Regions from separate parts of the Homo sapiens genome. Here regions 1, 2, 3, 4, 6 and 7 are each linked to region 5. Evidence: promoter capture Hi-C in 16 types of primary human blood cells and fetal thymus (Javierre and others, 2016). All regions are on one chromosome and are shown on one strand. Each heading gives the region's core, a stretch centred on a gene start or on the middle of the fragment in contact. The rest is flanking DNA. Distances are from core to core; before and after follow the strand shown.

Region 1 (3,863 bases), core at 72-2,571, about 36 Mb after region 5:
ACATTAAGTTGTACCTCATAAATATACACAATAAAATAATTCCTTTTTGCTCATGCCAGTTGGGTCTTCCTTCTGTTGGGAATGTTACCTTTATATAGCATTTGAGGTTTACAAATGCTTTTTTTTTTTTTGAGACGGAGTCTCGCTTGTCACCCAGGCTGCAGTGCAATGGCGCGGTCTTGGCTCACTGCAACCTCCACCTCCTGGGTTCAAGCAATTCTCCTGCCTCAGTCTCCCAAGTAGCTGGGATTACAGGTGTCCGCCACCATGCCTGGCTAATTTTTGTATTTTTAGTAGAGATGCAGTTTCACCATGTTGCCCAGGCTGGTTTCGAACTCCTGAACTCAGGTGATCTGCCTGCCTTGGCCTCCCAAAGCGTTGGGATTACAGGCATGAGCCACCGTGCCCGGCCCTACAAATGCTTTCTTATACATAATCCTTTTTAAATTTTGGACTTCACAATAATCCCAGGATGTATGTAAGGTTTAGCAGGTAATTATAAAACTGGGTTTCCAAATTCATGCTTTCTGAATCAAAGTCTTATGCTTTTTATCTGAATAATACTTGCCTCCCTCGGTCATCTCCCTTTGAGTCACATCACTGTGTACCTCCCTTAGCACTTTTGTGATGTTCACTGCTCTCTTCTTTGCTATATATTTTTTCCTCTCCAAATTACTTTTCAGATTCTCTTCAGATTCTCTTCACTTATTGTAATTTAAATTTTACTATAAGCAATATGTCTTGTTCATTTCTGAAAAAATAGAAATTACAGAAGAGTACATTGAAAAAAATTAAAATAACTTCACTGCCCACAGATTACCACCATTAAGATGTTGGTATATATATACTACTACTTCTGTTTTCTAAGTGCACATATATTAATGGAGACACTGTACTTATTTTGTAGTCACATTTTTCCTTTAACATGTATTTGGCATCGTTTTTAATGACTATATGATATGCATTCCATTGGGTAAATACATCATTTAACATTTTTTGTTGTTGCATTGGTGGGTGACGTTAGGCTTTTATCATTACCATTGCTAGTAAACGACATTCCTTTATTCCAAGTAAATGCGTTTGTTTATTCGGGACTTCAGCTTTTCTTTAGTTATTTCAATCAGTGATCAGTCTGTTTCTTTGTTGACCTCTGGGTTGATAATGGTTCTCGATAAGAGTGCTAGACTTCTGAGTGCTCAATTATCAAGCAGTTACTAAAATACAGAAACTCTTTAGGCTTGAGACTCTTTTGTTACATTAATGGCTATTTTCTTTATAATAAAAGGTAGCTCACATATTATGTAAAATAAAGTTGCCACATTATTGATTATATTTACTGTATTTTTTTCTCCCTAGACTGATCAGAATATTGTACTTTTCAGTGCAAAATTCAAACTAAGGAATTAGGCTTATACATGAAGTAATGGTCTTCTTTATCCTTTAAAATGTAAAATCTACCTTCAATATATCTAACAATCTATTGATGCAAATTTAGCTAGCACAAGTGCAGTGATACAAAGGCAGAAGTCATAATTAATAAAACTTAAAATCTGTAACTATTGTATCAATGATGCATATCAAGTAGGGTTGAAGCAAAATGTAATGATTTCAGAGTTTACAACTGAGATCAAATGAGTCTAACAGAGGCCTATTTTTCTATGACCTGAGCTAAGAATATTTTTTTACATTTTTTAAGTGTAAAAAATAGGCCAGGCACAGTGGCTCACGCCTGTAATCCCAGCACTTTGGGAGGCCGAGGCGGGCAGATCACCTGAGGTCAGGAGTTTGAGACCAGCCTGGACAACATGGCGAAACCCCGTCTCTACTAAAAGTACAAAAATTAGCTGGGCATGGTGACGGGCGCCTTTAATCCCAGCTACTCAGGAGGCTGAGGCAGGAGAATTGCCTGAACCTGGGAGGGGGAGGTTAAAGTGAGCCGAGATTGCGCCATTGCAGTCCAGCCTGGGTGTCAAGAGCAAGACTCCATCTCAAAATAGATACATAAATAAAATACGGGCTTACAAATCCGAAAATATTTACTCTATGGCCCTATACATAAAGTACACCAAACTAGAGGACTGTAATAAAATACACTTAGAAGAAAATATAAGGTATTTTAAAAGTATATAATTATATAAAAGTTTATATAAATAGAAAAAGTAGCCAATTCTTTACTCTTATTTTAGCTTAGCTTGAAATAGAAGCAACCCCCTTACCCTTTTTTTTTTTTTCTCAGAAGCTAAGGATAAATTTTTCTTTTTTTTTTTTGGAGGTGGAGTTTTGCTCTTGTACCCCAGGCTGGAGTACAATGGTGCAGTCTCAGCTCACCACAACCGCCGCCTCCCGGTTTCAAGCGATTCTCCTGCCTCAGCCTCCGAGTAGCCGGGATTACAGGCATGCGCCACCATGCCCGGCTAATTTTTCTATTTTTAGTAGAGATGGGGTTTCACCATGTTGGTCAGGCTGGTCTTGAACTCCCGAACTCAGATGATCCACCCACCTTGGCCTCCCAAAGTGCTGGGATTACAGGCGCGAGCCACCACGCCTGGCTTTTTTTTTTTTTGAGACAGAGTCTCACTCTGTCGCCCAGGTTGGAGTGCAATGGTACGATCTCTGGCTCAATACGACCTCGCCTCCCAGGTTCAAGCAATTCTCCTGCCTCAGCCTCCCGAGTAGCTGGGATTACAGGTGCCCGCCACCACACCTGGCTATTTTTGTGTTTTTAGTAGAGACAGGGTTTCACCATATTGGCCAGGCTGGTCTCAAACTCCTGACCTCGTGATCTGCCCACCTCAGCCTCCCAAAGTGCTGGGATTACAGGCTTGAGCCACCACGCCCGGCCAGGATAAATTTTTTTAAATCACAATTTTAAAAACAGCCAAATACATTAGAAAACTGGTCAGTGACTCAGAAGTACAAAAGAATGAACATAGAATTATAGAATTTTAGAACAGGATAGGACCTTTAAAATCTTCTAGTCTAGCTCTTACATTTTAGACATGAGGAAACTGAGGCCCAGACCTGGTAAGTGACTTGTCCGAGGTCAGACAGCTAATTTCCTACAAAGTTAGAATGATAACCCACGTCTATTTGTAGGTCAATAGTGATAGGTCAGTATCATAATAAGTAGATCAAGTGAAAGTGATAGGTCGATACTACTGTATATATATATATATTTTTTTTTCCATTTTAACATGTATGGAAGTTGGAAAAACAGGACACCTCTCACACATCTAAAGAAATAAATCCTTTTATTTTATAACATTCCTTTTCTTTTTAAAGATGCATACAGTACTTGTAAGCCCATGAATTCTGAAAAAAGCTATAGAAGACCTGGCACTATTTTTGAGAATTACAAAACTGGGCAGCAGAATAACACCTTTATAAAGGTCAAAACATAAAGCAATAAAATTTAGTGTTTGCACACAAAAATAGGGGGGTTACATTCAACACGTTTTTTAAACGTGCATTTAAAATGTTTAATGTTTTCTAAAACTTTGGTTGTCATGCTTTATTATAACTTGTTAAATTTCACAATTATGTAGATAATTGAACCCAAAAGGTAAGCAAATATATGACATTAACACAGCAGCAAAAGCAAGCTAATACTGCACAATCATATTAGCGGACTGATTCAGAAATACATGTTTTTCACAAATAATATACAAACTTAGTTTCTGATAACATAGTTCAATGACTTCCACGTTATAAAATAAGGCTGAGAAATGAGACATACCAGAACATGATTACATAATAAAATGTGTATTTTTAATTACAATTCTAATTTTACATATAGGGCAACAAATTGTAGTTTCTATAGAATAGTGCAAATGAGCAGGACTTTTCTCAAAAATATTAAAATT
Region 2 (3,938 bases), core at 556-3,055, about 42 Mb after region 5:
AGATCATAAGCATTCTGCTTCCAGGCTTTGTGCTGAATTCCTTTATACAGTTCATACAATTCAGACTGTTATTTTGTTTTGTTCCAGTTATTTTCATGTCCCTCAGGAAAATAATTAAAAGTATAAACTTGAATTGTGTGAACTTTTCAAGGGTGCTGATCTTCAGAGAGGACAATTGGCATTTTGTTTTGCTTGGTTCCTGGGTTATATATATACATGTATTCTCATAGTGATTATAGTTGCCATACCTGTATCTTAGGTTTTAGGAACAACTAATAAGGATAAAGAAGGTGCATAAGTGCCTCTCTGAGGGTAACACACAGTCCTTCACGTTTCAGAAATTCCTTCTCTACAGGGCACTAGGATACCTGTCTTCTTCATTAATAGTAAGAACAGAGGGGCAGTAAGTACTCATTCAACTGTATTTTAGGTCACATAGGCTGAATTTCTCTGCAGTCGTTCTATAAGAAATTGTACCTAGAAGTGCAAACAACAAATAGATATAAATGCATTTTTAGCATTTAATCCAGTTGTCAGGTTGGGTACTGCCTATTAAAATGCTGTATTTCAGACTCCTTAGGAAAAACGAGAGCTCATGGTAAGATTTATGATAATAGGTAATAGACTCAGTCACTAAAAATACCTGAAGAGTAGCCATAGGCACATTGTCTTCATCTGGTTTATGCTTCTATGGGCTGTATAAATGTTTTACATAAGCTTTTCTTGGGTGGAATGCTGTTAGGGGCAGTACTTTTTTGTTGTTGTTGAGAATTCATATCGTTGGCCAGGGGTGGTGGCTCACACCTGTAATGACAGCACTTTCTGGGAGGCCGAGACGGGTGGATCACTTGAGGTCAGGAGTTCGAGACCAGCCTGGTCAATATGGCAAAACCCCATCTCTTTTAAAATACATAGCCGGGTGTGGCAGTGCATGCCTGTAATCCCAGCTACTCAGGAGGCTGAGGCAGTAGAATCGCTTGAAGTCAGGAGGCAGAGGTTGCAGTGAATAGAGATCGTGCTACTGCACTCCATCCTGGGTGACAGAGCCAGACTCCGTCTCAAAAAAAAATTTAAAAAAAAAGAATGCATATTGTAACAGACCAGAGAAATTTTGTACAAGATTGATTTTCTTTTTAAGATTCTGGGTACAGCTCTAACTGCTTGTATGTAGATTGACCATTTCATGACTGTGTCTGCTTATATATCCTGTAAGTTAAAAAGGATCTATTAATAATACTTAGATTTGGGTCTTGTTGATTTGGCATGCACAGTGAAGGAGAATCTTACCTTTGTATTGTTTCCTACCAAGAAACAATAATAAAGACATTTAAAAATATTTTGAGACAGAGTCTTGCTCTGTGACTCAGGATGGAGCAATCATGATCATAGCTCACTGCAGCCTCAAATTCCTGGGCTCAAATGATCCTCCCACCCCAGCCTCCCTAGTAGCTAGGACTACAGGCATGCACCACCATGCCTGGCTGATATATATATTTTTTTAATTTTGTGTAAAGACAGGATCTCACTGTGTTGCCCAGGCTGGTCTCTAATACCTGGCCTCATATGATTCTCCCATTTCTGCCTCCTAAGGTGCTGGGATTACAGGTGTGATCCCCTGCACCCTGCCTAAAAATGCATTTTAAAATGGGTTAAAAATTCCCTGGACATTTCAGATTACTACCTAAGATGGTAGAAAATGCCTTGAAGGTATTATCTCCAACAGTTTTTAGCCTTATTTTTCTTGAAATATTTCTCCTGTGGTAGTATAATAAATATGTCTAACAATGTTTCATCTCTGAGAGTTTACTTTGTTATTATTTACTTTAAAAAGCCCATTTACAGAATAAATATATTAAAATATACTGGGCCTGTGACCAATCTGCCCTGTTCAAGAATTAGTTTCCTGTGACACTGCATTCCCAGCAGGCTCCTTACCTAAAAACTGAAAAAGAGGCTCCTTAGGGATAGCCTCAAAGTTACTGAGAAGGAAAGCTAAAGAAACTAACCTCCTGGAAGGCTGTTATGAGAGGTTTTAGGACTTTTTATTCCACAGCTGTATTGGCAACTGATAGATGGAATAGGGTGTAAAACTCAAGGAAAAAAAAGTTAAAATTTTTTGACTGTGTTAAATGAGGGTGTTAAGCAGCTTTTGAGTGGAGTGATTAAATATCTCCATTTTAATTTGTTAGTTCTGAGGCAGCCTTGGGAGAGTTCACCAAACTTGACCAATTTATTTAGGAGCTAAAATGATAGTTATAGAAAATCTAGGGTTTTTTCCTCCAATTATTGAGAGCGTACTATGTGCCAGGCGGGGAAGACATGCTTCCCGTTCTCACGGAGTCATTCTAGAGGAGGAAGGAAGACAGAAACAAGTAGACAAAGGAAAGAAGGATTATTTCAGGTTGTGAAAATAAAATCTGAAAATAAAACAGAAGGATGTAATAGTCACTAGGTGGCAACATTAGGTAAAGTGTCAGGGAAACCTCTTTTGAGAAGGATATTTGAGCTGCAGCATGAATAACAAGCGTTGCCCATCTGAAGATCTGAGCAAATAGCATTCCACACACAAGAAACAGTAAGCGCTAAGGTCTTGAGCCAGACAAATTTTTGGTCTGTTCGAGCAGTGGAAAAGAAAGTGTGACAGGGCTGTGGCAAGTGAGGATGAAAATGATGCCATGATGAGTTCTGAGAAGTAGAAGAAGGAAGAATTGGGGTTAGGTAGGCTTATTTAATGAAGTTTGGAATATATTCCAAGGATAGAAGAAGTCACTGAAAAAAATTTTAAGGACAAGAATAATGTGATATCATTTGCATTTTAAGACAATCACCCTGGCCATTTTATGAGCGACTTAGGGACCAAGAGAGAAAGTAGGGGGACAAGTTGGGAAGCTTTTACTGTACTCTAAGCAAGAGATGATGGTAGCTTGAACTATGATGGAGGCAGGAGAGATGAAAAAAAGTGGATGGATTTTGGAAGTATAGCCCAGAGTACTCACCAGTTAGATGTGGGTAGTAAGACAAAAGGAAAAAACAATATTTTTTCATCATTTCTTTCTCACTCGATTTTCTTGTCCTTATTATTGTTAAAATTATCTTTTAATAGCATGTTAAAAAAATAAATATGAAAAAATAAAATAAAAAATAAATAAATAAATAATTTTTAAAAATAGCATGTTAAATAACAACCGCAAGTGTTCATTTTATTTAAATACACCTTTTGTGTGTAACCTTCGGGATTTGGGGATGGTAGTTATTCTTAGATTAGGGGATGGTAATTCTTAGATGGAATTGTAAGTTCTGGGAAATAACTTCTGGTTAATGGGTCCCAAAGCTAATACGGAGTACTGTTATAGGCCGGTTATTTATTTCTGGGTTCTAATGTTGTACTGTCAAATATGGCAGCCAGTAGCTACAGATAGCTATTTAAATTTTAAATAGATAAAATTAAAGACCCCATTAGTTCCACTAGCCACATTTCGAGCGCTCAATAGTCACATATGGCTAGTGACTGCTATATTGTACAACAAAGAATAGTACACTTCCATCCATAGAAGAAAACTACTGGACAACACATCTCTAAACTATTTGTGTTCGTTTGATTTGGCTATGACCGTTCATTAGCATTTTTGAGGAAAGGAAATAATGTTATTAAAAAAGTATAATGTGGATGTTAAAACATGATACTGAAAGTGGACTAAGAAGAATAGAACCAGCCCAAGAGAATTTCATGCAATGATGGTGGATTATTTTAGCTTTTATTAATTTAAAAAAGGAAAAAAGTTATATGTCATTATCTCTTTTATGGCATTGGAAAAGATTTTAATGTTTTTAAGAGCATCTTTTTAAAGAACCATGTTCTTTTATGTTTCCATAACTAATTCTTCTTAGCTGTAATAACTCTTAAGGTGGCTGCATTTTGCATTTTTCTATTGTTCCTG
Region 3 (3,713 bases), core at 654-3,153, about 32 Mb after region 5:
TAGAGGTGGGGTATTACTATGCTGTCCAGGTTAGTCTGAACTCTTGGGATCAACTGATTCTCCTGCAGCCTCCCAAGTACCTGGGACAACAGGTGTGCACTACTGTGCCCAGCAATGAACTTAAGTTCATTTCACTGAGGCAGAGGTAGAAATAAAGCTATTGCAATAGTCTAGGCAAGTGATATTTGCTTGCATTAGGATAGATGGGAGTGGTTGAGATAGTCACTAAGTTTTTTTTTTTTTTTTTTTTTTGGGGGGCAGGGTCTTGCTCTATCACCCAAGCTGGAGTGCAGTGGCGCACTGCAGCCTCAACCTCTTGGGCTCAAGCTATCCTTCCACTTCAGCCTTCTGAGTAGCTGGGACATGGTGTACACCACCATGCCAGGATAATATTTTGTGTTTTTAGTAGAGACGGGGTTTGTTGTCCAGGCTGGTCTTGAACTCCTGGGTTCAAGTGATCAGCCCGCCTTGGTCTCTCAAAGTGTTGGGATTACAGGTGAGCACCACTACAGCCAGCCTTACTGTGGGAGACAAGGTTTGTTGAAGGAACCGATACAGGAGATAGGAGTAGATAATGACTCTTAGGGGCTGGGCGTAGTGGCTCACTCCTGTATTCCCAGCACTTGGGGAGGCCTAGGCGGGAGAATAGCAAAAATTTAAAAGAGAAAATTAGCCGGGTGTGGTTGTGCACGCCTAGCTACTTGGGAGGCTTGTGCCACTGCACTCTGGGCAACAGAATGAGACCCAGTCTAAGAATGACTCCAAGGATTTTGGCCTGAGCAACTGGAAGGATAGAATTGCTGTTGAGATAGGCCTTTCCAGGTTTGGGAAGAATAGAAAGTTCAATTTGGACATGTTGACTTTGAGACTTGTCTTAGACATCCAAGTAGAATCTGTTTTAAGCAGTGACGTGAGTGATCAACTGTATTGTGTGCCTTTGATTAAGACAGAATTGGTAACCCCAGTTTTATCTGAGAGGAGGGGAAGTGTGACAGAAGGGAAGCTGGAATGGAAAGAGCATCTTAACTGGTTGCAGCTAAATTATCTTTGCCAATTTTTTTTTCTTTTTTTTTTGAGATAGAGTTTTGCTCATGTTGCCCAGGCTGGAGTGCTGCAGTGGCTTGATCTTGGCTCACTGCAACCTCCGCCTCCCAGGTTCAAGCAATTCTCCTGCCTCAGCCTCCTGAGTAGCTGGGATTACAGGCATGCGCCACCATGCCCGGCTCATTTTGTATTTTTAGTAGAGATGGGGTTTCTCCATGCCGGCCAATGGCTGTTCTCGAACTCCAGACCTCAGGTGATCTGCCTACCTTGGCCTCCCAAAGTGCTGGGATTACAGGCGTGAGCCACCGCACCCAGCATTTTTTTTTTTTTTCTTTTGAGACGGAGTCTTGCTATGTCACCCAGGCTGGAGTGCAGTGGCATGATTTCAGCTCACTGCAACCTCTGCCTCCCGGGTTCAGGCGATTCTCCTGCCTCAGCCTGCCAGGTAGCTGGGATTACAGGTGTGCCTGTACAGGTCTGCCACCACGCCTGGCTGATTTTTTGTATTTTTAGTAGAGGCAGGGTTTCACCATGTTGGCCAGGCTGCTTTTGAACTCCTGACCTCAGGTGATCCACCCACCTCAGCCTCCCAAAGTGCTAGGATTACAGGCATGAGCCATCGCTCCTGGCCGCCAATTTTTTGAAAACATGTGATTGAACACATTCCTAGTATACTTGCCTTAGAAGGAGCTTGTAGAAGTTAGGGATACTGGAGTTTAAGTTTCATAAGCTTCATAGTAAATCCACCTGTGCTCCTAACCCTGAACCCCAGGTGTATGTGATGATAAAGTTGGTGTTGGGGAAGTGTCTAGGAAAGAGCCAGGTTTCAGTCTGGGTAAGGAGGTGGGAAGAATATTGGGAGATGAGGTTGAGGATGTAGAAAAGATTTATTGGTAATGGGATGAGCTGGTATTGCAGATAGAGTGGATGAGAAGCTGTGTCAGCTAAGCAAATGTAAAAAAGTTTGGGAGATGATGAGAGAAGCTTACATATGTAGTGGTGAGTTAGGTCAAAAAGGGTGTGATATGTGTTTGATTTGGTCATGAGAGTCTCTTGGATGGGCTGGGCTCTGGTCCAGTGTGATGGCCTGGTATAAATTCTGTAAGAGACGTGCAGTGCCTTAGGTAATGGAAGGGAAACACTCCCTAGACAGTCCTATCCCTGTGTATACATGGTGGTAGTGAGTGGGAAGGCTGCTGTGGATAGGTGGTCTAAGTGCTTTATGCACATTGCCTTTTTCCAGTCTTAGAGTACTTTTCAGCAGGTATTATCATCATTACATAGCCAAGGAAACTGAGGCTTAGAGATTAAGTAATTTCCCCAAGGTCTCCCAAAGAAAGAGACAAAACGACTGGAACTGGGTCTGTCTGAAATCAGTGCCTATGCTCTTAATATTCACAACACACTTATTGTATGGTTAGAGGACTATGCATCTCTTATTCCCAAAGATCACTTAGTTACTTGAGGGCAGGAGTAAGTGTTTCCTTTCATATTTACATGCATACCAAGCACATAGCAAGATGCCTTGTAGATTAATAGGTCCTCATTTGTTGGGGAATTGAACTAAATTACTTAGTAAAAGCTCAATAAGTGTTGATGGCAAAAGATGGTAGGTGCTATAGGAGAGGCCCAAACAACCATTGGAACATAGAGGATCTATTCTTTGTTTTTCAAAATTTATTGTAGAGACAGGGTCTTGCAGTGTTGCCCAGGTTGGTCTTATACTCCTGGCCTCAAGTGATCCTCTTGCCTTGGTCTCCCAAAATGCTAGGACTACATGTGTGAGCCACCACTCTGGCAGAGGATATATTCTTAGGTTTGGATTCTGTCTTAGTGTCTTTGGGCCACTGTAACAAAATCCAGTAGACTGAGTGGCTTAAATAACAGACATTTATTTCTCACAGTTCTGGAGGCTAGGAAGTCTGAGATCAAGGTGCTGGTAGATTTCATGTCTGGTGAGAGCTGTTTCCTGACTCATAAATGGTGCCTTCTCATTGTGTCCTTACATGGTGGATAGGGCAAATGAGCTTTCTTGGGCTTATTTTATAAGGGAACTACTCCCATGAGGGTTGACCTCTCATGACCTAATCTCTTTCCAAAATGCCCCACCTCCTACAACCCACAGGCTAGGGTTTCATCATGTGGATTTTATGGGGGACATAAACATTTTGGCTGTAGAATCTCCTTTAATACAACAATTCCCTGAGGTACCGTCCCCATTTTACAAATGAGGTGACTGAGGCACAATGAATAAGTAACTTTCCCAAGATTGTATAGCTAGTAAGAGAGATTCAACCAGGTAGTATGTCTTGAAAACTGCTCTTACCACTAAACTGTAAATGTTCAACAAAAAGTGAAAGCTGGCTGGGCGGGGTGGCTCATGCCTGTAATCCCAGCACTTTAGGAGGCTGAGGCAGGTGGATCACAAGGCCAGGAGTTTGAGACCAGCCTGGTCAACATGGTGAAACCCTGTCTCTGTTAAAAATACAAAAATTAGTTGAGCATGGTGGTGTGCGCCTGTAATCCCAGCTACTTGGGGGGCTGAGGCACAAGAATCGCTTGAACCGGGGAAAGCGAGGTTGCAGTGAATCGAGATCATGCCACTGCATTCCAGCCTGGGAGACAGAGTGAGACCCTGTCTCAAAAAAAAAAAAAAAAAAAGTGAAAGC
Region 4 (4,004 bases), core at 653-3,152, about 28 Mb after region 5:
TATCATTTTAGAAACCGTGGTATTAATGGAGGCATCTCCATATCACCAGCAATGATCTATTTTAAGTTACTATTGTAATTAATTAGTAGAAATCAATTTCCCAAACTTTATGAGTAGCCAAGCAGTTCAACCACATTAACCAAACCAAGGCAAGCCAGATAAACCAAAATAACCCTCTATTGTGAAACACCATGATTCTGAGACAAATTAATTCACAAGTGAAAATCTTTCGATCAACATGAGGTAGAAAGTACCACATGTTAAAACATCCTTCCGAATTATCTCCTTCCTTTCCATAAAAATGATCTATAAAACTGCATTTGGATAGAGAAAAGTTACAAAAATGTTCAAAGACCCTCAAATAAACACATCAATGAAGGATATAGACTGTAACCATTAGATAAAATAATTCTTATATGCATTGAAATATGAAATATGAACTTTTACAAATACAGTAGTCCCCCCTTATCCACAGGGGATATGTTCATACATTTGAGGATAGTGCTGAATCCTATATACACAATACTAAAATAAAACACAAATTGTACATAGGCTGGAGGTGGGGGGCAACAGTTTGGGGAAGAAAAAAAACATCAGAATACTAGACTTGCACTGGGACATTCCACAAAACAGAAAAGTTAGTATTGCACTTTCTCTCCTAGAAAAAATAGGTAAATCCCTCCAAAGTCCTTTTCCTTTCATTCCCACACCAAGCTTGAGCTTTGCTTAAATCAAAGGAGAAAAGAAAATGTTTCACTCAAATAAAAAGAGAAGGTGGGCAGGGACTGGAGGGGCAGAAGAGTACTCAAGTAAGATATTTTCTAAACCAGCAATTTTTAAACCTGACTGAACATTAGAATCATCTAGCTTCATTCAGATAAATTAAACTACAATAGGTGCTGGTAGGGTCCACGCATCAGTATTTTTAAAAAATTCCTTACTCTAGAGTAAGGGTTAAAAAGCACCATTCTAAATAAAGGAGCTAGAAAAGGAATCCTCAGCCATGTATGTTAAATAATTCCTATCTTTGATCCTGTACTACGGGATTCACAAGAAAAATGGAAAGGGAAACATGGAAAGTTGCTAAACTGCAATGGAAATAAATATTTCACTTTCTGTCAGAAGAGAAGATAAAACATTAACTTTTAAATTATAAAACCAATAGCCCCAGCTACAACCAATTTGCTTAAAAATTGGTACTATCAGCTACTCCTTCTTCCTAATATCTAAGCTCTCTTATGAAAGGTTCAGTCTAAATGGAAAATAGACAATGACCAAAAATTGTTAAATGTTACAAAGGTAAGTATTAAAGTACCAAGTGCCATAGTAGCTGGGGAATTGAACCAGTCTAGAGGATGAGGAAAGGAGTTAGAGAAACTGGCAAACAGGAAAAGCTTCTCTGAAGAAATGTTGCCTAAAGTGGGATCTAACCCAAGGGTAAGCAGTTAATTAGGTGAGGGTAAGGAAGGTGCTGGCAGCCAAGGCAGGGGAAAATAGCAAACATAAAGGCTCTGAAGGCGGGGGGTGGAAATTAAAGCATTCCAGGAACTGAGAGAAGATAAATATGGCTAGGGCTTACAGAGAAAGGAGCAAGAAGAGTAGCTCATAATGAGGTTAGAGAGGTATGCAGATGTCAGACCATACAGGACCCTGGAAATAATGTCAAGGGTTTAAATTTCATCTTCAAAACAATGGAAATTCATGAAAAAGTTTTAAACAAAAAAAGTAACAATCTTTTCACAAACTGACTGATCTAAATTTTTGTTAGCACTGTCCTATACAAAGAATACCAATATTTCAAGAAACGTGAAAGTAATATTCTTGTAGAGGTGACAGAATCATCAACCTATCATAGCTTGATCACATTAACATTAAAAGCATTCCCTGAACTCTCTGCTTGAATTCAGTTTTTATTAAATTTGGTCTGTAATTTGGATTTCCAGGTAGTGCTCCCTGTGTCAAAGAAACAATGCTGGCTGATCACTCTAACTACTTAAGACCATTTGACACTTTACATTATCTCACTGGAGATTAGAAAATTAACAGTGCTTATTAGTCAGTTTATTATGAATAACTATATGCTCCTATTTAATAGTTTATTTATGTGGCCCCTATGTATAGTTTTATCAGCCCAGAAAGTACCCTCTACCTGTGGAAATGTTCCTATGGTTTTGGTGGGAGGGCTACCAACAATAAACTTCACTCCTCTAGCCAAGGAATTAGGGATATGACCTAGATGGGGCCCCTCATTGTATCTGCCCTTTCCTGGCTACAGTGACTGATCCAAAGTGTGGGAACATGAATTAAATTGGGCAATTCCTCTAGATTTCAAACACAGAAGCTGGAAGTGTTCAGTTTTATTCCTCAATAACCAAGCTCATAAAGGTGTGACCCCAGATGGCCAAGCTTCACATCTTGGAGAAGCCAGAGAGAAAGCAGAGACTCCGAGAGAAAGTAGAGATAAGAACTCATGAGAGACAAAGGCAGTTCTGATGCTTTATAATACCTGGGTTTGGTCAAATCCTTGAAACTAGCTGCACCACTACCCTTCTGGATTTAATTACTTTTTTTTTTTTTGAGATGGAGTCTCGCTCTGTCTCCCAGGCTGGAGTGCAGTGGCTAGATCTCGGCTCACTGCAAGCTCCGCCTCCCGGGTTCATGCCATTCTCCTGCCTCAGCCTCCCAAGTAGCTGGGACTACAGGCGCCCGCCACCATACCTGGCTAATTTTTTTTTAAGTAGAGACGGGGTTTTACCGTGTTAGCCAGGATGGTCTTGATCTCCTGACCTCGTGATCCGTCCGCCTCGGCCTCCCAAAGTGCTGGGATTACAGGCGTGAGCCACCACGCCCGGCCGGATTTAATTACTTCTTCTTTTTCTTAAATTCGTTTTTGTTGCTTGCAACCAAAAGATACCAAACATGCAATATTAAGAAATACGGAACGAATTGGCTTTCAGCAGACAATACTTGCATCATTATCCACTAGCTTTAACCATTACCTCTGTCCCTGTGATATAATATGAAATACATGGTCTTTCTCTCCAGTTCCTGTCACAGTCCTCCTAAAACTCTTGGAATTTTCTAATAGGAGTGTCTTTGGTTATTTATGAGCCACTATTTTTGATCAAACCTGATTATGCTAATGAAGTGATTTAGGGTGGGGCCAGTCACCAGAAAGACCATGTGACAAGAGGGTTGAACTCTCAGCCTCACACACACACACACCTCTATGGGAGGGGATGGAGATGAAGTTCTATAAAAACCGTTGAATAAGATTTGTTGAGCTTCTGGATGAAAACACTGGAGGTGCTAGTGAGGCAGGTGAATAGGGTCTGGAGGCAGGGAATCTAAGGCTGTTTCACCCCGACTTCCCAGAACTAACTTGAAGGGAAAACCCTAACTTTCCACGCCTAAGTAACAAAAGGACCAGAGGCTACTCCCGTTGCAAACCACCTACCTTTTCTGCACAGTAGACGGGAAATTGGCTGTCCTCAACAAATCAGACTGACTGCGGGTGGAATCTTCGTTTGCAACTTTGTAACTTCACTCTAGCCACTGAATGGTCGCTGTCCACAACCAAGCGGACTGATGTGGGGGTGGGTCTGGCAACCAATCAGACCAATTGCAAGCCACCTCTTCATTTACATGAGGTGAGCATGGAATGGCCAATGGGAAAGTTCTAGGGGGTATTTGGACCCAAGAAGATTCGGTAAAGCAGCGGGGGTCGGGGGGGAGTGCTGCTAGGGCAGCTCCCACACTGTGGAGTGTACTTTTGTTTTCAATAAATCCCTGCTTTTGTTCTTTTGTTGCTTCATTCTTTCTTTGCTTGGAGTTTTGTCCAATTCTTTGTTCAAAACGCCAAGAACCTGGACAGCTTGCAATCATGACTCTACTGGTGACACTGGGATGGTGGTGTGCCCCTTCCCCCATACCTTGCCCTATTCATCTCTTCCTACTGGCTGTTCACTGATCTTTTGTAGTATCCTTTATAATAAACCCGTAAA
Region 5 (3,760 bases), core at 460-2,959:
GAAACTACTCAACCTTTTAGTCAAGAATATCAATAGTAGGGGGGAAAACTAGGTGGAAGGTGAGGGATTCCATGTGCAAAGCGTTTGGGAGTATGTAATAGGGAGGTAACAAGAAGTCCTCTCAATATGTAGTAAAACTTAACAGGAATGGTATTGTTTAGTGTAAATTTTCGGGCTGTCACCTGAATATTAAATGAATTACAAATGTTGATAGAATCATAACTTTATATAATATACCAAGAACACTGATTTCCTGTGATTTTTTTCTTTAAGTGTCCCAGACCATGCAGCTGTGCAGGAAACTGGGAAGCAACTGTTAACAGGGGAATGGACTTGGCGTGAAAAGAAATGTCAAGGTTCATAGATATCCTCTACACCCATTCACAATCTCCCATTTTCTGAGTATTCAAGGCCTCTGGTTTCTCTAATCCCTTTCTTCAAGTCTTGGCAAGATGCATTTTTTTTCCTCTTTGGTAAGACGCCTTTGATATTCTTCAAATCTGGTTTCACCAGCACAGAACTTTGACGTTTCGTTTTGCTTTGTCTCTGGAAGACAAACTCCCTCACTCATCCACGCGACATTTCAAGTCCCTCAAAATTCCCAGGGACAAGAAAACTAGGTACTATGAATTCTGCCTTCCAAACAGCATTCTCTGTTCTGCTTGCAAGGTCGATATAAAGGCAGGATTTGCTTGGGCAGAACAAGTCAAAAGCTTATTGAATTGCACTTATTGAATTGAACATGGAACACAGCCGGCTTGCTCTCTTATAGCGAGAGGCCATGCGAGTTGGTGGGTCAAGGGCATGCATTTCAAAGTGATCAGTCACTATACGTTGGCCACATGGAGTCGCAGTATTTTGGCAATATTTTTAAAAACCAGGGAAAGTTACTGTGCTGTTACAATCCAAAGGCTGGTGGGGTTTTCTTCCACCCCGCATTTCCACTAGCGTGATAAATTATTTAAAGTACGTGGCCTAGTAGAGGACTAACCTCTGGGTAACATAAGCCTAGTCTTCGCAGCGTACCCACTGTGGAAACAAACGAATCAGACGTTACTAATTGTGGAATGTTAAAAGTAGGCCCCGATCGGCTTTTACTCCCTTTGGAAAATCCTACACAATTCTGCGCGCGAAAGACCCACCCTCGGTGAGGCGGTGAGGCGCGAACGCCGCGAAGCTCACAGTCAAAGCCTCGCTGACAAATCAAGAGATGACTCCGCATTTAAAACCTTCCCGAATAGGAACGCGCCAGAGGCCGGAAGCCACGCCACGTGACCAGTCCTCCTCCGCGGCCATTCCTAGCGAGGCAGTAGGCACCGCCTCTGTCACATTTCCTAGCTCCTAAAGCGCGGGACCAGGCGGAAACGTGCGACAGGAGGCGGTCCCACCTAGCTTTGGACTGGAGTGTCAGTAGAACTCCCGTCTTTTCCAGCAACGCTTTGCAAGTTCTTCACCGCAAAGAACTGCCGCAGACTTCCGCCTGGGTGCCAACCACGTGATCACGCGAGCGTTGGAGAGGCGTAGGTCCGATTTCACTACTTCACTCCCCGGGCTCCGCCAGTCCAGTACCCGCCACGGCGCGTGACAACGCGGCTCGCCGGCGGCCTCCGCCCCGGCGCGCCTGCGCACGCGGCTCTCGCGGTGTCTCGCGCTCAGCCCCGCCCACCTCTGCCCCCGCCCTTTCCGCCCCTCCCTCCCCCTTCACCCTGTCTCTCGGCGGCGGCGGCGGCGGCGGTGGTGGCTCGCGCAGCTTGTTGGCTCGCTATATAAAGGAGAGAAGCGGGCGGACCGGACGGCTGGAGCTGCAGCCGGTGGCGGCAGCGGCGGCGCAGGGAGCGGTGACCGGTGGTGGTTTCCCTCCTTGGCGCGGGGTGGGGAGCGGGCAACGCCCCCCGGACCCCTGAAGGGTCGTGGCTTTTTTTTTTTTTTTAAGGCGATTCTCGAGGTTTTCAGCTGCGGGAGGAGTGCCCCCCTCCTCCTCCTCTCTCCGCTCTCCCCTACTCCTTCAGGATTGATTTTGTTTAAAATTTTTTCCCCAATCTTGCGGTGATTTGGGTCACCCTCCGGGTGTTATAGTTTTTTTTTTTTTGGTTTTGTTTTTATCTTGTTTTCTTGGGGTTGCCCCCTCTTGTTTGTGTTGTGTGTGGAAATGGCGAACTCGGCAAATACAAACACCGTGGTAAGGACGTGGTTCGGTGGCCGGCGGGGGCTTCGTTCAGGCTGCAGCAACGGCCGGACCGGGCGGGGGCGGGGACGGCGGCGACTCCCGGCCTCGACTCTTCAGCCGCCCGCGCGGCCGCCGCCGCCGCCGCTTCCCGCCTCGGGCGGATCGGGCCGGAGCGCCGGGCGGCGGGCGCGGGGGGGCGCCGAGGGCTCGCGGCGCGGGGAGGGCGGGGGCGCCGGTGGGGCCTGGGGCCGCCGCGGGCCGGGCCGGGCCGCGGAGGCGGTTGGGCCCGGTCGGGCGCGCAGCCCCGGCCCCAGAACCCGGCCGCCGGGAGGGAGGGCGGGAGGGGAGCCGCCGCTTCCCCCCGAGGGGCCCGTCCGCGCTGGCTTGACGAGGGCTCCCCGAGTGGCTACAGAACAAAAACTGTGTGTGGGGAATCGGGCGAACCCCCGAGACCCATCGTGATCCACTTTAATGCAGTGGAAGATTAATGGTTACTTTGGGGGTTTCTTAGGTTGTTTTTGGCGGCTGTGCTTTGGGAACCTTCTCTGAGGCCATTTTATGTTTAAAAAAAGGACGAAGGTTGGTTGAAAAGCACTTATCTCAGTTCCTTCCGAATGGGTAAAATGGCGAAGGGGAAGACCCCCATCGTATCTTCGCCTAGCAGAAGCACCAAAACAAACAAAAAAAGCCTGCAGTGGTCCAAGTGTCCCCGCTTTCGCCTTGAAATTTACCTACTTCTTCCCGTTGGTCCCTTTTTGTTACTTGCGATCACGTAGGTTTGCAAAAAGCAGTCACATAAATAACCTTTTCAGTCACCAACGCAGTGTGATCACTAGTCCACCCAACTCTTATTTTTATGATGACAATAAAACACGTTTTTTGCCCGGTCCCAAATGCCGCAGACCAGCCCGCGGCCGCCCGACACCGTACCGTTGGCGACTCGGGTCTAACCATCATGGCTGCGGCCGCTTACCCTGCTTTTCAGTCCCTGAGCCTTGTGGTCCTCCTCCCTTTGGCTGCCCTGTTTATATAGAGCCATTGCCGCTCTCTAATATAGACTCTGCCAGGATGGGAAGGTGCTTTTCAGGCCTACGTCACCGCCTCTCCATTTAAACACCAGATCCGGCTTTAAATAGTGAGAGCTGCTGAGAGCGGGGCTGGGAGGTGCGTGCTCCCGAGGCAAGAGCCAGGCGTGTGCAGAGCTCAGTTTATTTCTAGGTCCTTTTTTCACCCTGTGATTTCGCACCCGTCGCGGGCTGCTTTCAGAGCCCCAAGTTTTGGTTTTGTTCCCAGCAGCAGCTAGGATTTGCCTTCTTTGTTTGCTAGGGGGAATATATCCGAATCGCTGTCCCTTTTTGTTTACAATTTTCAAAATTAATTATTTAAAACAAAGAGTTTTAGATCAGATGGTCTAGCCATTTTTCTTATGTGCATTATTTTCGGGAATTTAAAAAACTGCTTTCTACATGGAAAATGTTAGCTGCAGAGGACTTGGTTTTGGTAGTGTTTTGTTCAAGTATTCAGGAAATAATGTTAGAAATATAGCTCCTAATATTTCATTATGTTTTCCTATAGTAAATATAAAAGACACGA
Region 6 (3,779 bases), core at 546-3,045, about 36 Mb after region 5:
GGAATTTATTTCTTACAGTTATGGAGGCTGAGAAGTCCAAGGTCAAGGGGGCCACACCTGGTGTGAGCTTTCTTGGGGCTGCATCTGGTGGAAGCCTTCTTGCTGGTAAGAACTCTGCAGAGTCCCAAGGCAGCACAAGGCCTCACATGGTGAGGGGGCTGTGAGTGTGCTAGCTCAGCTCTCTCTTCCTCTTCTTATAAAGCCACTGGTCCCACTCCTGTGATAACCCTTTAATTTGCTAACATGTTAATTCATTAATCCATAAGTGGATCAATCCGTTCATAAGGACTCTGCCAGTTACCTCTTAAAAGCCCTACCTCTCAATACTACCGCATTGGGGACTAAATTTCAACATAAGTTTTTACCCGTATTTTATTCTAATATTTATATAATTACATTTTTCATATATATACCTCTGATTCATTTGTAATTTATCCTGTTGGTGTAGGTATGTAGCAGAAATCTAGTTTTACCTGTTTCCATATGGCTATTCCGTTATCTCAACACATTTATTTAAACGTTTCTCTTTTCCCTCGCAGAGATTCCACCTTTATCATATACTAAACCTGCATATCTAAATGATCTACTTTTATATTTTCTGTTCTCCATTGATCTATTTTTCCTTACATACGTCTCATTTAATCCTGTTAATCCACAACAAATTTTACAAATGAGAATGTTTAAGCTTAGAATAAGTAATTTGCCCAAGTATCAAATAGCCCAGCTATTAAGTAGCAAAATGTAGACTTAAATCCAAATCTGTCCGACTCTAAAATTAATGCTTTTACTCCCTGTTCTTTCCTGTGTTTGTTTTTTTTTTTTTTATGGTACTTACCCTTCCTTTTACGCAAAGTGGTTACTGAGGTAAATGAAACTGCCAGTGTAAAACTGTTTGACAAATGTGGGGCTTTGAGGATTAGAAAGTATTACTTCTTTGAATTACTTTTTTTAGCCATTTATGGGTAGATAGCTGAGAACCAAATATAGTCACAGTTGCCATGTATAATTTTGAAGGCATTATAGTTTTTGAGCCAAACGCAGTGGTGGACACCTGTAGTCCCAGCTACTGATGAGGCTGAGGCAAGTAGGTCACTTGAGCCTAGGAGTTTGAGGTTGCATTGTGCCATGATCATGCCTTTGAGTGGCCATTGCACTCCAGCCTGGGCAACATAGTGAGATCCTGTCTCTAAAAAACTTTCATTTTAAATATTTCTTAAAAATAATTTTCAGTAATTTTTAAGCTGCTAAACTTGAGCTATAAATATTTTAACTGGTTCTGGAACTTTTGCCTAAGAATAACCTGGAGGACTTAAAACACAGTTTGCCCATTTCCTGCAACCCCACTGCCCTATGTAGTTTCTGATTGCTTACAACTGTGATGGGGCTCAAGAATTTACATTTCTAGCAGGTTCCCAAATGTTGCTAATGCTGTTGGTACAAGGATCAGATTTGAAAACCACTGTTTTAAAAACTCTATATTTGAAAATGTTAGAATTCTGTGCATTTTTCTAAAGTCATATTTTTTGAGAGAGGAAAGGGGCCAAATTAAAAATTTTAAGATTTAATTTGGTCATGCTCAGTGGCTCACACCTGTAATCCCAACACTTTAGGAGTCCAGGGTGGGTGATCGTTTGAGTCCAGGAGTTCGAGACTAGCCTAGGCAACATGGTGAAACTCCTTCTCTACAAAAAAAATACAAAAACTAGTCGGGCGTGGTGATGTGTGCCTGTAGCCCCAGCTACTTGGGAGGCTGAAGTGGGAGAATCACCTGAGCCCAGGAGGTCAAGGCTGCAGTGAGTAAGCTAAGATCTCGCCACCACACCCTGGCCAGGGCAACAGGAATGAGAACCTGTCTGAAAAACAAAAACAAAAACAAAACAAAAAAATTATGTTATGGAAAACTGCTAGTGTAATTCATTTTAAGTTCCCTATTTTTACCTTGCCTTGTTGAAGTTGCTAGTTGACACTGTTTTGATTAAGCATTCAAACTATAATTTTTAAAATTAAACTTTATTCTCAGTAGTTCTTACAAGGAATGAAAGTATATCATTTGCATCTAATACAATTATAAAAATATGCTAGGCTTTCTTTTATGAAGTTACTTTTACCAGTGCCTTTTCTTTGGCCCATTTTAAACACTTTGATAATTTCTATTATTATGGAGTAAAATGAACCATGCTGGTTCAAATGAATAGAATGTCTTACTTACTAGTTGGAATGGTCAGAAAATATTTAAAAGGTTTTAACAACATAGATCTAGGAAAGTGAGATAAAGCAGTATTATAGGGGCATAAGTATAGGGGAACAACTTTGTCATGGTACTCTGGTCACCTTGCATGTATCCATGTAGGCAAAGACTTGGACCTCAGGACTGCAGCTTATCCGTGGCTTGACACACCTTGTGATTCTCCTGGAATATGAGAGAGTGAGAGGCCTCTAAGGAGCTGCTATGAGGTCATCTCCCAATTTTCCACTCACCTCTCTATTTCCCCTACAAGTGTGTCATGAGACAGTTTCTCTTCACTTCCCTGGTTGTGATTAGGTGTTAGACTTTTGACCCCATCCCACACCCTTAGAATAGAGCTACAGAATAGAAAACTGCTTAGCCATAGTTTTCATGGGGCCAGCCCCTTTTTTGTGTTACCATTTTTGATGTGCGGGACAAGGATCCAGGCAGTTTACTCTTTGGCTAATCTTCTTTTCAATCTGTAAGTAATAAACTATCTAAATCTAATAAGCCATCTATATTTTAAAATGGCTCATATGTCTCTTTACTGATAGAATTAGTGAGGCTTTGGCCTGGCTTTGGTAGGTATTTGTTCCCTGGACAGTAAGCAAACTTCCTTCCTTTTTTGGTATGCATGGAAAGGCATTTCATGGATATAGTTGGCAATAACCAAGCTTTTTAAAGGTTGATGAACAGTAAAAATAAATAACGTCTACCAATTACTGAGTGCTTATGTACCAGCACATAGAAAGGCATATTTACAACTGCTTTTTATACAATTTTGTCTATTTTTTTACAAATGAGAAAACTGAAACTTTTGACTGAATTTCCCAAGGTCACATAATACAGACCATTGTATTGTAACCCGGGAAGCCTGGTACCAAAGCCCAGTCTCTTAAAACTATACTGCATATCATACAAATATATGCATGTGTGTATATTTATGTGTTGTGTGTGTACATACATGTATGTGTGTATTTACAGACCTATGTTGTGTCATTTTTGCGTGTCATATGTTGATGGTGTACCAGTTTTGAATTGGGTACACAAAAATTAGGTTAACAATATAGGATCTATCACTATGTGATTCCTAATTATATTAAAAATGAATCTAGTCAATACTTCATAACCTTGATTTGAGAATCAACAATTCTGTGATACTTGTGTTGCCCAGGGTATCAGAGAAGACAGAGTGGGTTTCTTATCTAATAGTGAGAGGTAGTGCAACATAGAAAGTTGACTACTTCTCAAGGGACAACTCGAAGAATTTACTAGTAATAACTCATATTTATTAAGAGCCTACTAAGTGATAGGCCCTATTCTGAGCCCTTTTTATGTATAAACTCGTTTAATCCTCAAAACAACCCTATATTATAATTATTATTCCTGTTGTTGTTGAGTAACCTTCATTCCTTGGTTTTTCATGTGATAACTCAGACCTCCTTTTTTCCCAGACTCAGTACCTCTGTTCCATTACCTGTAAGACATGATTTGAATTTCTGCTGTTCATCAGGTGTTACAGTCTGTTTAGATCCCTGTCAAAGGATGATAC
Region 7 (3,525 bases), core at 1,026-3,525, about 29 Mb after region 5:
AAGGAGAAAAGAGTTGGTTTATGCAGGAAATATAAACACTTAATATACGTCATTTTTTTTTTTTTTACTTTTGCTTGGAACTACATTAATTCCATCACCTCCAAAAAAGCCTTTGAGAGGATTAGCTGCATAGGCCAATATTATTCTATATTAGTCTGTATTAAGCATATGATGTCACCTTGCTTCCTCCCCTCCTCAAGCTTTTCTTTTGGTGGGAAGGAGGACTTTTTTGGGGGAAAGTCTTAAAATATTATGGCTTAAATACCACAAGCTGACACACATGATTGACAACCTTACACTCCCAAACCTGTTTGAAATGGGTCAAATACCTAAGCGCTGCAGAACAATGCAATCCAACCAGCAATTCCCCATAAAAGAGAAAGGGGGTGTGATTAGGTTCCAGATATTAAGCAAGTTATTGCAAAAACAGTTTGGTGGTTTTGTTTCTGCAATAGGCACAGGTTAAGCTAGTATTTTTTTCTCTTAATTAGCTCCAAAAAAGACTATGCTAATAGGAGGTAGGATAAACCGCTAAAGCACGAAGCAACTGGGGCAAACATTAAGGGCTTTATGGAGGTCCTTATCCTGATCCTCAGCATTGGTTATTGATCATCAACCCTGCTGGGGAACTATCGAACGAAATTTATGTGAGGCTTATCGAGCCACAGGAAAGGAGATGCAGGAGGGAATATAAGCTTCTAATAAAAGAAACGCAGCAACAATAGCAGAGGAACAGCTCTGCCTGGTGACGTAATGGCTGGCAGCAGTCCAGCTTCAGCAGAGCTGCTGCTACCTCAGCATCCAACCTCCCTCAACACAGTCCGGCTTCGGCAGAGCCACCGGGGCTGCTACTTCTTGCGATGCCACTTTGTTGGTGCCACCAACGCCTTACCTCGGAGGGCCAGAACACCGAACAAAGGGTTCGTTCCGTTGCTGTTTTAAGTTGTCAGACACACACACTCACTCACTCACCCCCTAGCCCGAACCCCTCAGTAATCAAGCCAATCAGCCACTTAAGTTTAAGGCGAAAACACTGGCTCACACTCCAGGTGTGCCTCAGTTTCCCCAGGCTGGTTTCCAGTCCGCCTCTCGCTGCCCACCCCCCGCCCCCGCTGGTCCTCAGCGGGAGTTGATCCCGGCGGCCCCGCGCACCCGCCCGGGCCCCGCATGCCGGCCCTCCCGCCTTACCTCCGCCAGGTAGAGGTTGAGGAGACAGAGCGTGGAGAACTGGAGACAGGAGGGGAAGCAGTAGAGCAGCCAGTGGGGGAAGAAGTGCAGGTGAGCGGGCGGCCGGAGCAAGGGCAGGGAGCCGCTGAGCGAGAAGGCGGCGGAGAAGAGGGTGGTCCTGAGCGCTGCCCACAGGAGACAGAGGAAGAGGCAGAGGCTCTGGTAACTCAGCCGCCGCTCGCGGTACAGGAGCAGCCGCCACAGCTGCAGGTAGGCAAAGGCGAACAGCGCGGCGTAGAGCAGGGCGTGCAGGACGCTCAGCGCCAACTGCACGGAGCCCGGCACCGCGGCGCCTGAGGCTGCAGCGACGGCGCCTCCGCCTCCGCTGCCCCCGCCGGGCGTGGAGGGCTCGCGGCCGGCTGCGGGGGCGGCAGCGGCCGCCGGACCCGGCACGGACACCCTCATGAGGGGGCTGGGGGCCGGGCGAGCGAGCGCGGGAAGGAAGGGGCTGGACTCGGAGCCGCCGTCGAAGGGGAGAAGGACTGCCCCCTTACCCCCCACCCACCCCAGCCTCTAACCCCAGGAAGCGCCGTGACGGGACCCGGAGTCCAGCGCAAAGCAGCCGCGGCTCCCCCGGACCCCGCCTCCTCTTTCCCCCCACCCCCCGGGGGTCTCGGCTCCTCCTGCTGCGGCTCGGCTCCGTAGCTGCAAAAAACAACTCTCGGCTGGAGACAATCAGCTGAGAAACCCGAGCATTTGAGGCGCTCGCTCCGCACTGTGGGCTCGCGCCGATTGGCCCAGGCAGGCACGCCCCCTGAGCGCCGCGCTCGGAAGGCCACGGGCCGCAGGACCCGTCGCTCGAGGGCCCCGAGATCTGATTGGGCGCGTAATTTCCCTACTTTCTCCCGCCCCTGTACTTCCCACCCACGCTGCTGATTGGCCCTGCTACTGCACCGCCCGTTCGCGCCGGCGGGAGGACTCTGTAATCGTCTGTCACTCTCGCTCCGCCCACCACGTTTCCCATTGGTTAGAGAGTGCCTCGCGTAGGGAGCACGAGGAGAAGGAGGAGCTTCGCAGGTTGTTTTTTCCCAGGAGGCCGACTCCGCCGAGTCGGTGGCGGCTGCAGGCTGGGAGGGAGAAGTGCTACGCCTTTGCAGGTTGGCGAAGTGGTTCCAGGCTACCCGGCTAGTCTGGCACGGCCCCGTCTTCTGCCTCCTCCTCCGTCGCGTGGCGGCGGGAACTGTTGGCCGCGCGGCCTCGGGAACGGCCCAGGTCCCCGCCCGCAGGTCCCGGGCAGGTAGGTGACAGCGCTGGCCCTTCAGGCTGTGGGCTCTGCCTGCAGACCCGGGGATTCAGACGAAGCAGCTTTCTGTAGCCAGGGCTGCACTGCACAGCTCCGGAGTCTGACTTAAGACACCCGTCTCTGGGGCACCGAAGGGCCTCACCTGGAGCCTCCTGAGGGCATTTTGCTTTCTCTTTTCGCTGCATGAACGGCGGGAAACACCGGAGCCCTTTGTGGGTCGAGGGGATGGAAAGGGGCGACGGGGAGAATCGGAGCTCTTAAGTGAAAGACCCTTTCCTCCCAAGGCCAAGGGAAATGTCTCTTAAGGAAGAGTAGTAGTAGTATCAGATGGATGTTGAAGCGATCTGTGAGCAGGGGGAAGCTGGTTCTTTCAAACGTAGAATTTGGGAAGATGCTCTGGGCTTAAGTTTTGGGAAAAAGGCAGAAACAGACTTGTAAGTATGATGATTGCCTGGAGAGGAAGTAGAATATTCTGTACTGTTTAAATTCCACATGTATCGAAGCCTTGGACCTGTGTATGGTAGATGGTGGCGCTATTCCTGGGCCTGAGAGAGAAAATACATGCTGTGTTACTGCTGTGAAGAACCGAGGAATAATCAGATCGACTAACGTATATTGGGCCGGCACATAGTTGTTGACTTTTTTTTTTCCTATTTGGAAATAAGATTAGCAAGTAGTGCAAAATTAAAAGGAAATAATTTGTTTTCTTTAGAATACACAGCACATTACGAATTCAGTATCCTTGTGAAAGACATTGCTACGTTTATTGGAGCAACAAAGACCCAGCTTTTCTTACCTCACCATCCTTTGTCCTATGCTTTTTTTTTTTTTTTTCCTTTTTTTCATGCAGGGTCTCGCTCTGTCGCCCAGGCTGTAGTGACAGTTCACTACAAACCTCCACCTCCTGGGCACAAGCAGTCCTCCCACCTCAGCCTCCCAAGTAGCTGGGACTACAGGCACTGGAGCCACCATGCCCGGCTGATTTTTTTTTTTTTTTTGGTAGAGACGAGGTTTCACTATATTGTCCAGGCTGGCCTTTGTCATATGCTTTGCCC

What was found. The method cuts DNA at HindIII sites, captures the fragments that hold promoters and counts their contacts. A CHiCAGO score of 5 or more calls a contact.
Region 1: a fragment that was not itself captured here is called in contact with the fragment with the promoter of GTF2A1 in region 5 in 1 of 17 cell types (activated CD4 T cells); the score reaches 6.4 in activated CD4 T cells.
Region 2: a fragment that was not itself captured here is called in contact with the fragment with the promoter of GTF2A1 in region 5 in 2 of 17 cell types (non-activated CD4 T cells and activated CD4 T cells); the score reaches 7.0 in non-activated CD4 T cells.
Region 3: a contact is called between a fragment that was not itself captured here and the fragment with the promoter of GTF2A1 in region 5, in 1 of 17 cell types (activated CD4 T cells). The highest score is 9.4, in activated CD4 T cells.
Region 4: a fragment that was not itself captured here is called in contact with the fragment with the promoter of GTF2A1 in region 5 in 1 of 17 cell types (non-activated CD4 T cells); the score reaches 10.0 in non-activated CD4 T cells.
Region 6: a fragment that was not itself captured here is called in contact with the fragment with the promoter of GTF2A1 in region 5 in 1 of 17 cell types (fetal thymus); the score reaches 6.7 in fetal thymus.
Region 7: a contact is called between the fragment with the promoter of TXNDC16 here and the fragment with the promoter of GTF2A1 in region 5, in 2 of 17 cell types (total B cells and non-activated CD4 T cells). The highest score is 11.9, in total B cells.

What each region holds. Positions count from the first base shown.
Region 1 is chr14:45,073,803-45,077,665 of GRCh38, reverse strand. TOGARAM1 (TOG array regulator of axonemal microtubules 1) reads right to left here. Exons shown (of 20, transcript NM_001308120.2): 20 at 3,235-3,863. Among named protein-coding and RNA genes, the nearest start is that of PRPF39-DT, 8.3 kb to the left of the region's middle. The HindIII fragment of the contact is 6,278 bases long and covers 1-3,863 here.
Region 2 is chr14:39,425,346-39,429,283 of GRCh38, reverse strand. All of the region lies in intron 1 of FBXO33 (F-box protein 33), which reads left to right. Among named protein-coding and RNA genes, the nearest start is that of FBXO33, 5.1 kb to the left of the region's middle. The HindIII fragment of the contact is 2,172 bases long and covers 720-2,891 here.
Region 3 is chr14:49,578,552-49,582,264 of GRCh38, reverse strand. It overlaps a transcript of RPS29 not described here. Among named protein-coding and RNA genes, the nearest start is that of RPS29, 6.0 kb to the left of the region's middle. RefSeq lists an enhancer at 572-691. The HindIII fragment of the contact is 254 bases long and covers 1,777-2,030 here.
Region 4 is chr14:52,733,630-52,737,633 of GRCh38, reverse strand. All of the region lies in intron 1 of STYX (serine/threonine/tyrosine interacting protein), which reads right to left. Among named protein-coding and RNA genes, the nearest start is that of STYX, 5.5 kb to the right of the region's middle. RefSeq lists an enhancer at 3,429-3,723. The HindIII fragment of the contact is 1,012 bases long and covers 1,397-2,408 here.
Region 5 is chr14:81,218,908-81,222,667 of GRCh38, reverse strand. GTF2A1 (general transcription factor IIA subunit 1) reads left to right here and starts at 1,709. Exons shown (of 9, transcript NM_015859.4): 1 at 1,709-2,179. The coding sequence starts at 2,150. GTF2A1-AS1 (GTF2A1 antisense RNA 1) reads right to left here and starts at 1,450. Exons shown (of 2, transcript NR_135252.1): 1 at 1,143-1,450; 2 at 1-1,029. RefSeq lists silencers at 1,545-1,844, 1,875-1,924, 2,455-2,574 and enhancers at 2,915-3,004, 3,045-3,114, 2,987-3,495. The HindIII fragment of the contact is 3,079 bases long and covers 716-3,760 here.
Region 6 is chr14:44,949,949-44,953,727 of GRCh38, reverse strand. The region is part of intron 1 of KLHL28 (kelch like family member 28); the gene reads left to right. Among named protein-coding and RNA genes, the nearest start is that of KLHL28, 10 kb to the left of the region's middle. The HindIII fragment of the contact is 2,216 bases long and covers 688-2,903 here.
Region 7 is chr14:52,551,255-52,554,779 of GRCh38, reverse strand. It overlaps TXNDC16 (thioredoxin domain containing 16), which reads left to right and starts at 2,275. Exons shown (of 21, transcript NM_020784.3): 1 at 2,275-2,464. GPR137C (G protein-coupled receptor 137C) reads right to left here and starts at 1,944. Exons shown (of 7, transcript NM_001099652.2): 1 at 1,189-1,944. The coding sequence starts at 1,632. RefSeq lists silencers at 1,475-1,674, 1,685-1,754. The HindIII fragment of the contact is 4,024 bases long and covers 698-3,525 here.